Linked DNA regions of Homo sapiens: region 1 is linked to region 2. The links are contacts of gene promoters, found by promoter capture Hi-C in human tissues and cell types (Jung and others, 2019). All regions are on one chromosome and are shown on one strand. The core of a region is centred on a gene start or on the middle of the fragment in contact, and the rest is flanking DNA. Distances in the headings are between cores, read along the strand shown. Region 1 overlaps GRIA4 (glutamate ionotropic receptor AMPA type subunit 4). Region 2 holds the start of GRIA4 (glutamate ionotropic receptor AMPA type subunit 4).

The links. The method cuts DNA at HindIII sites, captures the fragments that hold promoters and counts their contacts. A contact is called where the count stands out against the background at its distance.
Region 1: a contact is called between a fragment that was not itself captured here and the fragment with the promoter of GRIA4 in region 2, in 5 of the 25 tissues and cell types used here (adrenal gland, aorta, hippocampus and 2 more).

What each region holds. Positions count from the first base shown.
Region 1 is chr11:105,657,632-105,663,452 of GRCh38, forward strand. All of the region lies in intron 3 of GRIA4 (glutamate ionotropic receptor AMPA type subunit 4), which reads left to right. Among named protein-coding and RNA genes, the nearest start is that of GRIA4, 50 kb to the left of the region's middle. The HindIII fragment of the contact is 5,638 bases long and covers 839-5,821 here.
Region 2 is chr11:105,606,532-105,612,924 of GRCh38, forward strand. GRIA4 (glutamate ionotropic receptor AMPA type subunit 4) reads left to right here and starts at 3,542. Exons shown (of 17, transcript NM_000829.4): 1 at 3,542-3,897; 2 at 4,377-4,554; 3 at 5,745-5,903. The coding sequence starts at 4,467. RefSeq lists a silencer at 4,518-4,718. The HindIII fragment of the contact is 8,669 bases long and covers 1-6,393 here.

The DNA.
Region 1 (5,821 bases), core at 2,408-4,907, 51 kb after region 2:
GTCTAAAGTATCTTTCCCAATCCCTTGGAAAATCAGATTAGATGTGTCTCTGATTGCTACAACACTTTTCAGGTTCATAATCAGTCACCTACTGATGGCACCCAGAAATGTTTCTGATTTTTATTTGATCATGATAGTACAATGTACTTTGTAGTCTGTATGGAATTAGAGGAACTCATGTAATATAAAAAGAAAAAATAAGATTCAAATATTAGTACAGATGGAATGTATTTTTTTCTTTAAAGGAGGTATATGGAAACTCTATTTTTTTCTCAATTTTGCTGTGAACTTAAAAATGTCCTAAAATATAAAGTGTATTTTAAAATTTTATATTTTATTATACCTTTTAAGTTACTTATCTGTGTGTACAAGTATTTTTATCAGGAAAAATTCTCATTTTTGAATATCTTTTCAGAGAAAGTGTTAACAGCATATTTCTTAAGTATAGTAGAATTTTTTTAAAGTTTAAGAAATATTAACATTAGTGTCATATTGTCTCACCTTAAAAGATGTTTCAGTGTCTGGTCTTTCCTCATTCCAATTATCAGTACTATTATTGAAATAGGTATAGAAATTAATAAAATACATATATTTCTAGTATTCAAATATGAAATATGCATTTAGATGAGTTTGCTGCTTGCCATGAGTTTATAGAATAAAGATAAGATGAATTTTTGTTTTTCATCCTGAACAGCTTTCTTCTTTTTAAACCTCTAATTTACATTGTAAACATGAATTTCAGAATAACAGGAACTGATCTTTAAACAGAGTATTTCAAATGGCCTGGAATTTATAAAATAATATATTGCATCATAAAAGAATCTGGAATGTGTATAGGAAAACTAAAGAAAAAGTCACTATTCTAGATAAAAAGAAGTAGACATGGGATTAATGGAGGTGATTTCTGTGGGGACATGAATCCAAATATAAGTAATATCATACAGAAAGAAATATACTCATAAAATACTCATAAACAAAGATGGAAAAATACTCATAAACAAAGTGGCAAGTGAGAGAAATTATTTTGGGAGTGATAGTTGACATTATCTTTACAAGAAGAAATGTATAGGGATATAAGACTCGGCTCTGAAAGGAGCAAAGACCTCCTTAGGTCTTTGTTGAATTTTTTGAGGAAATTTCTAAGAGATGTTATTTGTGAGAAAGTAACAAAATATAATGAACTAATAATTTTTTTCTTACATGTGAATGGAAAGGATAGGTAGGCGATTAGAACTCCTGTTGAAATTAAACTCTACATTTCCAAGTCAAGATGACAGACAGACTGAATCCATAGGTTAATCTCTTCTCCTTCCTAAAACCCCAATAAAATGATATTCAACTAGTAAACAGACATAAATCTACATTGATGACAATAATGGGATAAATTTGTCAGAATATTCTAGCATGTTCACAGAAACAAAGCTAAAAAGGAGTCAATGAACTTGGCCAAAGTCCAAGGAAACTCATGAAACAGAAATACCTGAGGGTTCCAGTGCATTAGTTGCTTCCTCACCCATCATCCATGTGGTAGCTGCGGGGATTGTCACCCAAATTTCACCTATGTCATCTTCCAGGTAAACTTGTTCTTATTGGCAGAGCATGGCTGTCACAAGAAGCTACAATGCCAAGTACTTACTTATGAAGACTCTCTTACATCTTAGGCATGCGATTTGGCTCAATTCTGAACAAGTGGAGGTGGAGAGATATTAAGAGACTTCTAGGAAAGGTTTATCTCACTGTTGTAAAGTGTCTCTGAAGAAAACATTATTTTCCTTCATTGCATTTATTATATCTACCCAGAATACCTGGAATTGCCACAGTTATTTGTGATTAGGGAACCAGCTTAATGCTGAAGTGAATTTATCAAGGATGGCAAAGAAGAAGGACAAAAATGAGTCTGTGCCCTAAGTAGCATCACTAAACTCATAAATTAACCCTAGAACAACATACCTCTATGTTTATAGATGGTCCATACTGTGTAAGCCACTTTAAGTGAATGTTCTTTTACTTGCACCCAAAAGCTCCTGACATACAGCTTAAACTAAAGCTTGTTAATTGACAAGCTCCTTCTATTTCCACTGAGTTCTAGTCAATTTTTTATTTCCTAATTCTAAAATATAAACAAATGGCAGTAGACACCAGACTTTTCAGGAAAGCCTGTATCATAGGACTGAAAGAACATCACAAAAATTACCACAGAGGAAAGAGAGAGATGAATAGAAGATGCACTTAAAACAAAAATTTCTAACTAATATTCTCAGAAAAATTCAATGTGATATCAAACAAGGTCATGATAATGTGAATAATGTAAGATACTACTGAAATTAAAAACAATGGTAAAATTTTCAAAATAATAAAAATATTAAAATTCAAAGTCAAAGAAAGCTTCCAAAAGTAGAACTGCATACAAAAGAAAAACCGTTAAACAAAAGAGGAGTCAGAGAGAATCAATTCAGGAGTTCTAACGTTTGGTTAATAATATTTCTAGGGGAAGGAAAAAATGAAGAGAAATTTAATTTGAAAATATAAGCACATAAAGATAATTCCCTAGATCTCAAGAATTTGAAATTCCAGATGGAAATATCCACTAGGTGTCCAAAACACTGATAATAAAATTAGAAATCAATTAGAACCCAAAGGATAAAGAGCAGGTGCTAAAAAGGAAAAACTAGTTATCTACAAAGAATGAGATTAAGAATAGCAGCAGAATTCTCATAAAAAGTATTGAATGTCCAATATCAGACTAAGAATGACATTACAGATCTAGGGACATTTTTACCCTAGATTTTTTTGGGCTTAGAATACTGTAAACAGTAAAACTATCAATCAAATTTGAGAGTAGAATGAATATATTTTCAGATATGCTTGAACACAGAAAATTTATGTTACAGATATTGTTCTTGGAAAATTTATTTTTAAAAATGAAGGTATGGGGTTCAGGAAACAAGGAGAACAATAAGATGAAGTCTCATGATAATTTCTCTAGAGAATTAAGAGTCTATATTGTAGGACTGGGTTTTCTGAAAGAGACAGAAAAAAAACAGTTCTTAACACATAATGTAATATTAAACAGATAGGGATGGGGGGAATCGACTATTATGCAGGCAAAAAGTTGAAAGAAAAAGAATGTCCATGAAAAACTCCAAGACATATCTATATATCTATATCTCCATATATAGATACAATTGCAGTCATTTGATACTATTTGTTACTGAAGTGAGAGAGGTTTCATTATCATAATAACGTAAACATGACTTACTTATTTTCAAAGTTTAGGATCAACCTGTAGATAAGTTTATAGAGAAGGTAAAGAAGACCTAGCTACAATTTCTGAAGAGAAAGTATGTGTTCTTAACCTTGACTGTATAGAAGAAAAAATTCAAATTTCAGAATTAGAAAGGTGGGTGTGAAAAACACTGAAGCAAACGCTAGAAGCCCTAACACCAATTTTCAAAGTGGAAGATGAGATATTTTCTAGTGTGACATAATAAGGAATTAAATATATTACTTAATGATACATAGATTATCAATAGATACCTTAGAAAGATGAAATACTATGTTAGCAGGGTCTGGAGAGAAAAGCATGGGTAGACAAGAGTTGTATTTATATCTATTACAGTAATAAGTTATGCCTTCAATTGATATACATAGAAAGAGAAGTATAGGAGTATTATATAGAGATATAATAACATAAAATGAGTATTGGTTTGTTTAATGAGGTACAGTCACTACCCCCTAGAAATTGCTCTAGATTGATACTGAAGACACAAAACAAATAAACATAATACATAATATTATGTAGCCCTTATTTGGATTTTGATTCAGAGTTTTGGGGAAAAATTCATTTTGAGATAAGTAGAAAAATGTGAAGATGGGCTGGATATTAGATGAAATCAAGAAATGCATTTTGTTAGATAAGAAAAAGGCATCATATTACATAAGAAAATGTTCATACCTTTAAAGAAATTCATGGTTAATTTTTTATACATGTTGACGTATAAATTGATGAAAAAAATTACATCTCGACTTTGTTTTTAAATAGTCCAACTGAAACAGAGAGAAAAAGAAGAGGAATAGATAAGCAGCATGGTAAATTCTTGGTATTTGTCAAATTTGGACGATGGAATATGAGGTTTACACAAATATTTTTTGAGCCCACTTGTCCCTAGGGAACAGGACTAGAGAAAGATAGGCAAGAGATTTTCCTTGTCATTATAGAACTTTCTACATATTTTTTGTTTTTTCTTAATCACGCTTATATATTTCTATGAGGAAAGGAAATTTAAAATGACTATATTTTTTCCACACAACCACTAATGAACTGCAAAGTTGGATTAATAAGACCTTCAATGAAGAAAACTGTGTGTGTGTGTGTTTGTGTGTGTGTGTGTGTGCACATCAAATGAATGTTTAAGAATATAAACTCAACAGAAGTTGGCACAGTAAATGAATGCAATGTGGCAAAGCAGGCAAGAACTAACAAAGCAGATGACATTTTATTTGAGTCATAACGTAATCATTGTTGATGCACTTATTGACTAAACTAGATTAAAAATTTGGCAATTGAATATGTTATTGTATTTAACCCTTCTAAAAATATTCATTTTACAGGTGAGAAAACTGAGTTTGATCAGTTGATTAGCTTGTCTGAGTGCATGTATCTCTAACTGGCAAAACTGGAAGTTAAACCTAGGTCTGCCTGTTTCTAAACTATAAGCTTTTCCACTGATAAAAAATAACCAAGATCAGATAGAAAGGAAAGGAGAACTGCATTCCATGAGGCAGAAAGGCATGGAAACAGATACAGAGGAAAAAACACTGTTAGTCTTTGGTGGGGAGAAGGATAGGGTGGGAAGCGAGAATGTCAGCAGACCAAAGTGGAGAGTTCAAGTTAGAGACGAAAAAGGAATCTGTCAAATCAGTAAGAAGAATCCATAGTGTGCAAGCAACAGCAATATATAACTATTGAAATTTTAGAGAGAAAAATGGTTTTACTTCTTTACTCATTCTTTACTCATTCTGAAGTGAAACTTTGAGACAGATGGAAAATAATATGTAACAAAGCAAGTGTTCGATCACAAAGGGGGCATCCATTGCAGAAAGATCTATTGATTAAAATAAATGATGTGGCAGAAAGCTACACATTTCAAAAAAAGCCAGTGGTTAAAAAGCAGAGACAGTAAGTTCCCAGGCTGAGACTGAGGTTTTCTCAGAGTTACTGAGAGCAACAGAAGGGCCCTCTGTGTTCTTTAAACTCCATATGTAGACATCATTGTAGCGACACTCACACTATCTCTGACACCAAATTACAGCCATGACACAGAGAGTAAATACATAAAATAAGAGTATCTCAAAACCAGTGAATGGGAACAGTCTTGCCAAAAAATAATCACGACAGATAATCTAAAATATCCTTGTAGCCTATCTTTATAATTGAGTTTATAATAACTATAAACTCATGCCTCTGAAAATAAAATGTTTTAAAAAGGACAACTGTCTTAAAAAATATAACTTTATATCAAGTTCATTGATTTATATAACTTTATTACCAAGTTCATTGATTTACTCAAGCCATTTTTAATTTAGATTATATATTCAAGGTTCATAACATTCCTAATTTAAAAATTAAGAAAATTAATTATAAAGCTCACAATAGTACGTTAGTTCAACAACTAGTTCTCATTTTAGTTATCAATAACTGGGATTCTCTAAATTCATCTATTTCTTCAACAGACATTTATTGCACATCTACTATATTCCAGGTACTGAGCTCTACAGATAAGTAAGGCACAGTCATTACTCTCAAGGAACTCATAGTCTC
Region 2 (6,393 bases), core at 2,292-4,791:
AAACAGTTAATTTAGAGTGGATAAAATGTGCAAAAACACTTTAACCAACTGATGAAGGTTAATGTCACCAGTGACGTCAGGGGATATCATGGATTCCATTGTATGATGTGTTGAGAAGAGCATTTCACCTGTATGGTACTCTTTTCTGAAAATCCATAACCCCAGTCTGATCCTGAGAAAAGTATCAGGCAAATCCCAATTGAGAGACATTCTGCAAACACCTATCCAGTACTTATCAAGCTGTTGATGTCATATGAAAAACGAAGATGAAACTGTCACAAAACAGAACAAGGAGCTATGACAACTAAATATAATGAGGTGTCCGGAGCTAGATCCTGGCACAGAAAAATACTCTAATGGAAAAACTGATATAACTGTAAATAAAGTCTGGTGTTTAATTAACAGTGACATACCTGTGTCAGTTTCTTATTTTTGACAAAGGTACCAGAGTAATGTAAGATGATAACATTAAGGAAAACTGAAATTGGATGAAGGGTACAGGGGAACTCTCCGTAGTTAATTAGAAACACTTATGTAAATAAAATTATTCCAAATGAAAGGTTTATTATTAAAAATATGGGTTGGTTTCCTAGCATCAGATTTCTGATCTAAAGTACAAATCTGGTCATTTTGCCCCCTTGCTTATAACCGTTCATTGTTTCTCTGTCTCTATGAGACGAAGACAATGCTTCTGAGTGAGATGGTGCCGAGCCATCTCTTGCTTTGCTTTCCAGCCGCACTTCCACTACTTCCCCTCATATAACCTGAAGTCTAGTTTTACCAAGCTTTTAGCAGTGTCTAGAAAGACATAATTTTTCTCCACTTGATAATCCCTACAAACACATAGCAACTCAGTTCAATTTTATTTTTCTCTCTGTGAGTTCTCCCTGAATTCCCTCAAAGTCAGAGTTAGACACTCTATTTTGCTCACATGGCACTCTGCACCTCACTCTATAAGAGCCTTTATCACATTTTGGGGGGCAACTCATTATTGACAAGAGTTGCCAGTTATGTGCCAGAACTGTGTTGAAAGTTTACTTATATCCTGTCAGAAAAGAAATGTTAGGTAATATATCCAAGTCAATACAGCTAAGAAATTGAGGGCCTGTAATCTGAAACCAGTTACTAATTATTAGTCTGAAAGCCTGAGGTCTTTCAGGTAGAACACACTACCTTTCTGAATGCTAGGATTCTTGTAGTTTACTTTTCAGCTCCCAGACCCCTCGTCACTCCTTAAACTCATTAACACAGCAGGTTTTAATAAAGACAGCCCAGTCTCTGAAATCAGACAACTTGAGTCCCATCCTTAGTTATGGTTTCATCACTTACCAAGAATATAATCTTGAGAAAGAATCTAAATCTTTAGTTGGGTTACCTAACAAATGCAAGGATACCTAAAATTTTCTGTAGATCAGGTAATATATGTATGGCTTCAGCACAATACCTTGCACATTAGTGAGCATTCATAAACATTAAGAGTCTTCTAAGAATATCAGGGATTTTGTTTTGTTCAACTTTATATCTCAAACACTTGGAGAATAAATACACATCATAGGTGCTTAATATATAACTATTTGACATATATGTACATCTATATACATGTATATACGTATATAATATATGTATATATGATATTTCTATGTATCATACAGAGAAAATATATTTGATACATACATTTATAAATATATGTGTATATAATACAGATAAAGAGAGTTTAGGTTTAGAAAGTAAAATAGAGGTTTTAACTACTTGGGAAAATAGAAATTAAAAACAACTGGATTACTATTTTGGAAAAATATAGTTGTGTCATCTGTGGTTATATTAGTCCAGGTGTTATCATGACAGTTAAGTGGGGAAAAAAAACTTGTCCTGCATCTATATCAATGATGCTATTACATCATATGAAAACTGAAATCTTTCAATTTTGAGAAGAATTAAAGTTAATAATTGCCTCTGGATCAGGAAGAGCTTCACTAGTTACCCAAGCAAGTGATGAGTTTAACAGTTTGGTGGATTTTGAAATTTTAATTTAACTTGAATTTTATGTGTCATACTCTATTATCCTTTTTCAAGAGAAAACAGAATGCTATTATTCACAGCCTTGTTTTTTAACACAGAAAAATAAAAAAAGGAAAAATGCTTCAAATTTCACTTGACTTGCAAGACTAAAACTTCACAAACTAAAATGACAAATGTATGATTTGTAAAATACAGTTACAATTAGGTTTTTTTTTTCATAACAATCTGTGGTGAAATGTAACGGGAAAGCAGACACTTATTTTAAAGATGCAATTTTAAAAATAAAATTCAAAACTTAGGAAATAGAAAAGCACTCAAGTTTTAGCAGGGATTTTAAAATGTCATCTACAAACTACAAATACAGGTAATCAGTGACACCAAATAAAGTATTTTGAAAGAGTTAAGGTAATGTATATTTCAAAAAGCCGTTACCAGGCTTTCTGTAAGTCCCTTGCAAGAATTCCACTTTAAGCATTGTAGTCTCAAATATTATATCAGGCAAACCTAGGCATTTGCTATATTCTTTTTAAAAATTTAATGGCAGACATCACCCTAGGTTCCCTAACGTTTAAGGAGAACCTCTCCTTCTAATGATTCTCTCACACAGCTTATTGGAACAGGAGATTGTATTTACTAACTAGATCAGGAAATCTCAAACCATACAGAGGAAATCAGAAACCGGTCACTCACGGCTACCACAGTGACTGCTTCTGAGTGTGGTTCAAGCTCAGTCCAGGACAGGCAGATGAAAGGACAATCTTAAAGGTGACTCTGGAGAGCAAGTGAGACTGTAACCCCAAAACTTTCTAGGATAATTCATTTTCACTTCTACCCAGTCAAAACAACTATTGACATCATCACTGAAGTGCTTAAGTCTACCTGGAGGTGGCGTGGAGCAGAGTGAGCATTCCAGAGTCCCAGACAAGAGGAGATGTGCACGAAACACTATCTTCCTGTCAGACACCTGTGCCCACTGCCCCAAGCACTGCCCCTCTGGTCCTTCATCAGCCTTTGCGCTGTGTCCCTCCTGCTCCTGCAATGGGCCACAGCACAGAAGGAAAGAGTCCTCCGGAATGGGTGACTGTATAGAAAGCAATCGAATCTTTAATCACTTTTCCTACTTTACACTTCACGCAGTTCTTATTCCTATCCCTGCTTCATGCCTTTCCAAGAGAATGTTAGAGGCCTCTTTCAATTTTCATTTCTCAGTCTTTTCCCCATCCCGTTCAGTACCCTAAACTTCGTCAGTTATTTAAAATAACCTTTTACCCCCTCCTCCCCTTCCCAGGATGTTTCAACTTCTCTGGCTCTCTTCCCCATCCTTACCTCCTCCAATTCTTTCATCCTGGTCCTGGCCTCTTAAACCCGCCAGGGGCTGCCCTTTGCCTGTCTTTTCTCCTCCCATCCCTCTCTGAACCCTTTCACCTCATCCATTCCCTTGTCAGGCTCTCCAGATTCCCGGGCTGTTTGCTGGTGAGAAATCTTTGCTGCAGCGAGGACCGGAGTCCCCCGCGCGCAGCCCAGTGGCAGAAGAGGGCTAGGCTGAGAGGGAAGCCAGGACTGTAGGAGAGGGAGGCAGCCCGTCCTCCTCACGAACCTGCAAGGATGCGGCAGGGGCCTGGGGGCATGGGGAGGTACTAACCCCCCGGAGCCCCCGATTGGGGCTTGCAGACCTGGCCCGTGGGCGGATTTTCTGCCTAGCGCAGCCGAGAAGCAGAGGTGCCAGGAAAACCAAGAGAGGGGCGCTGGGGGTGCCCATCCCCAGAGTCGGTCCCTCTGCGAACCGAGGAAGAAAAGAGGAGGGAGTCAGCGAGTGGTCAGAAGGGAAAACCTGACACCAGACTGGCTCCGGAGCGTCCGGGAGACTGGGGCGCTCCGGTGAGCACCCAGGGGGTGAAGCCAGCCGAGCGGTGGGCGAGGGGCGTGCGGAGGGAGTGCGCGCTCGAGGAGGGGACGCCAGGAGGGCAGCGATGCTCCGGGCTGGTGCAGGCTTGCTGGGGGATGTCGGCTGATGCGAGCTGGAGAGCGCGTGTGGCGGCCGCGGCGCCAGTGTTTGTGTGTATGTGAGAAAGCAAGGGGCGAGCGCGAGTGCGAGTGAGGCAAAGATAGAGCGCATGTCTCATCCCTGCGAGCAGCCACTAGACGCTCCACCACCATCTTTTGCATGTGCAACATTTGCAGCCGGACAGAAAACCTCTCCCAGGGCTATGGAGACTGCGGGAAAAATCTGGCGGCTCGCGATGGATTGCTAAGGAGAACTAGTCATAATCTTAAACCACCGAAACCTCTTTCCTTTTTTTTCTTTCTTTTCTTTCTTTTCTTTTTTTTTTTTTTTTTTTGGTTGATTTTAATTTTAGCGCCATCGTCTTCAATGCTTCTCTGAACAGCCTTTAGGAAGAGTGCGAGAGAAAGAGAGAGAGCGCGCGCCAGGGAGAGGAGAAAAGAAGATGAGGATTATTTCCAGACAGATTGTCTTGTTATTTTCTGGATTTTGGGGACTCGCCATGGGAGCCTTTCCGAGCAGCGTGCAAATAGGTAAGGTGTGCTCCGATGGGGTGTGCATGTGGCTGGTTGTAGCAGATATCCGAAAGTGAGTTAAATGAGTTGCTGATAAGCAATTCAGGGAAACCTTCAGCAGTTCCCTTCCCCTCTGTTTCCCTCCTCTTCCTTTCTCTCCTTTGCAAAAAGACTTCCTCTTTAGTGCAGGTTCCGTTGGAATACACCCAGGGCAGCCCACCCATGCGTTCTCAGCCCATAGCCCTATTTCCACCTTTACCTATAGTCGCTTAAGTAGGATTGAAATAAGTTGGGGGAAAGTCTTCGGGGAATTTGGTTGTATTTTATATGATATTTATTTCCATCCCTTTCTCTAAAGCATAAAGTGATGTCGAGTTTGTTTAAAAAAGAAAAAAAAAATCCACTTCTTCCCATTCTGGACGCCGCAGCTTTCTTGCTATTACAGAAAGACACTGTTTGAGGAAAAAGACATTTCCACCCGCACGCCCTGCCGTTTCTTGCTACCAGTTAGCAGATTCCAAAGTTAGATCCCTTTCCTGGAAGCTTCTCCCCTTTTATTTTGTTTTCTTCTTGAAGCTTTTGCCCTTATTTCTCTACCTCGACTCTGTTTCCAGGGACACCCTCCATCCTTGGCTTTTCTTGCTATTCTCCTCTACTGTCTTTTAATGGGACGCAGCTATTGAATTTCTTCCAGCTAAGCCCAGCCTCAACACTGCATCATTTCTCGTGGACTGTGCATAAAACGGAGTTAATTAGGCTGAGTCCACGAGCTGGAGGAAAATAAAGTTCATTTCTTCTTTCTGATTTCCCTCTTCCCTGTGTGGCACTATATCCCTTCATTTCCGTATTTTAATGTAAATCTCTTTTCCGCTCATCTGCATGCATCTTAGAGAGAGCTGCCCTGAGGTGGCTGATGTAGCAGTGTGCTGGGAATCAGGGGGAGGGCAAGGGAGAGAAAGGAACATTCACTAAATGGTCTCAGAGGTCATTGTGAGCAAGACACATTAGGACAAGAAAAAGCTGAGCTGCTCTAAAGACTAAATACTAAGCATGCACCTTAGGGACAAAGGGCAGTCTCCCTAGATGTGGCAGGTATAGCTCTTTAATTGTATGTGCTTGTGAATGGCAGTAGATTTGACTGTGCTTGGGGTGGGTATAATGTTGACAAGAGGAAACAGTGAATGTGCTTTTCCTGCTGTTTTTAATAGGTGGTCTCTTCATCCGAAACACAGATCAGGAATACACTGCTTTTCGATTAGCAATTTTTCTTCATAACACCAGCCCCAATGCGTCGGAAGCTCCTTTTAATTTGGTACCTCATGTGGACAACATTGAGACAGCCAACAGTTTTGCTGTAACAAACGCCTGTAAGTAAAACATAAGCTATGAAAAATTAGAAGAGAACTGAAACCAAGCAATGGAGTCCTCTTCCTCTTTGTTATTTAATTTTTTTAGAAAGAATTTCAAGATTCCCACAGTTGCCTGGTTTCAGGACAAATCAGAGTTAAAAACAAGACTTCGTTTCAGGGATATTTAGTTGTTTTTTTTTTCTTTTCCTTAATTTATTTTTCTTTTCTTTCTTCTCCTCCCTCTCTTTGCTTCTTCCTGACTTTCTCTTTTATTCATTATCTGTCTAGATCATTCAAGTTAAATTTTCCTTTAACATTTTAGTGTTATTCCTATCATCCGAATGTCAATTTAGTGAAAATTGTACTCAAGCTAGTTTTTTATTCTTTTCCTTTGGTTTTTCTTATTTGCTTTTCACTTGAGTAAGCATAGGTCTTGCTTTTAAAGAAGAAACATGAAGACTATGGAAGGCTTGCTAATAGTGAGAAAAAGAGGGGAGTGGTGGTGTGG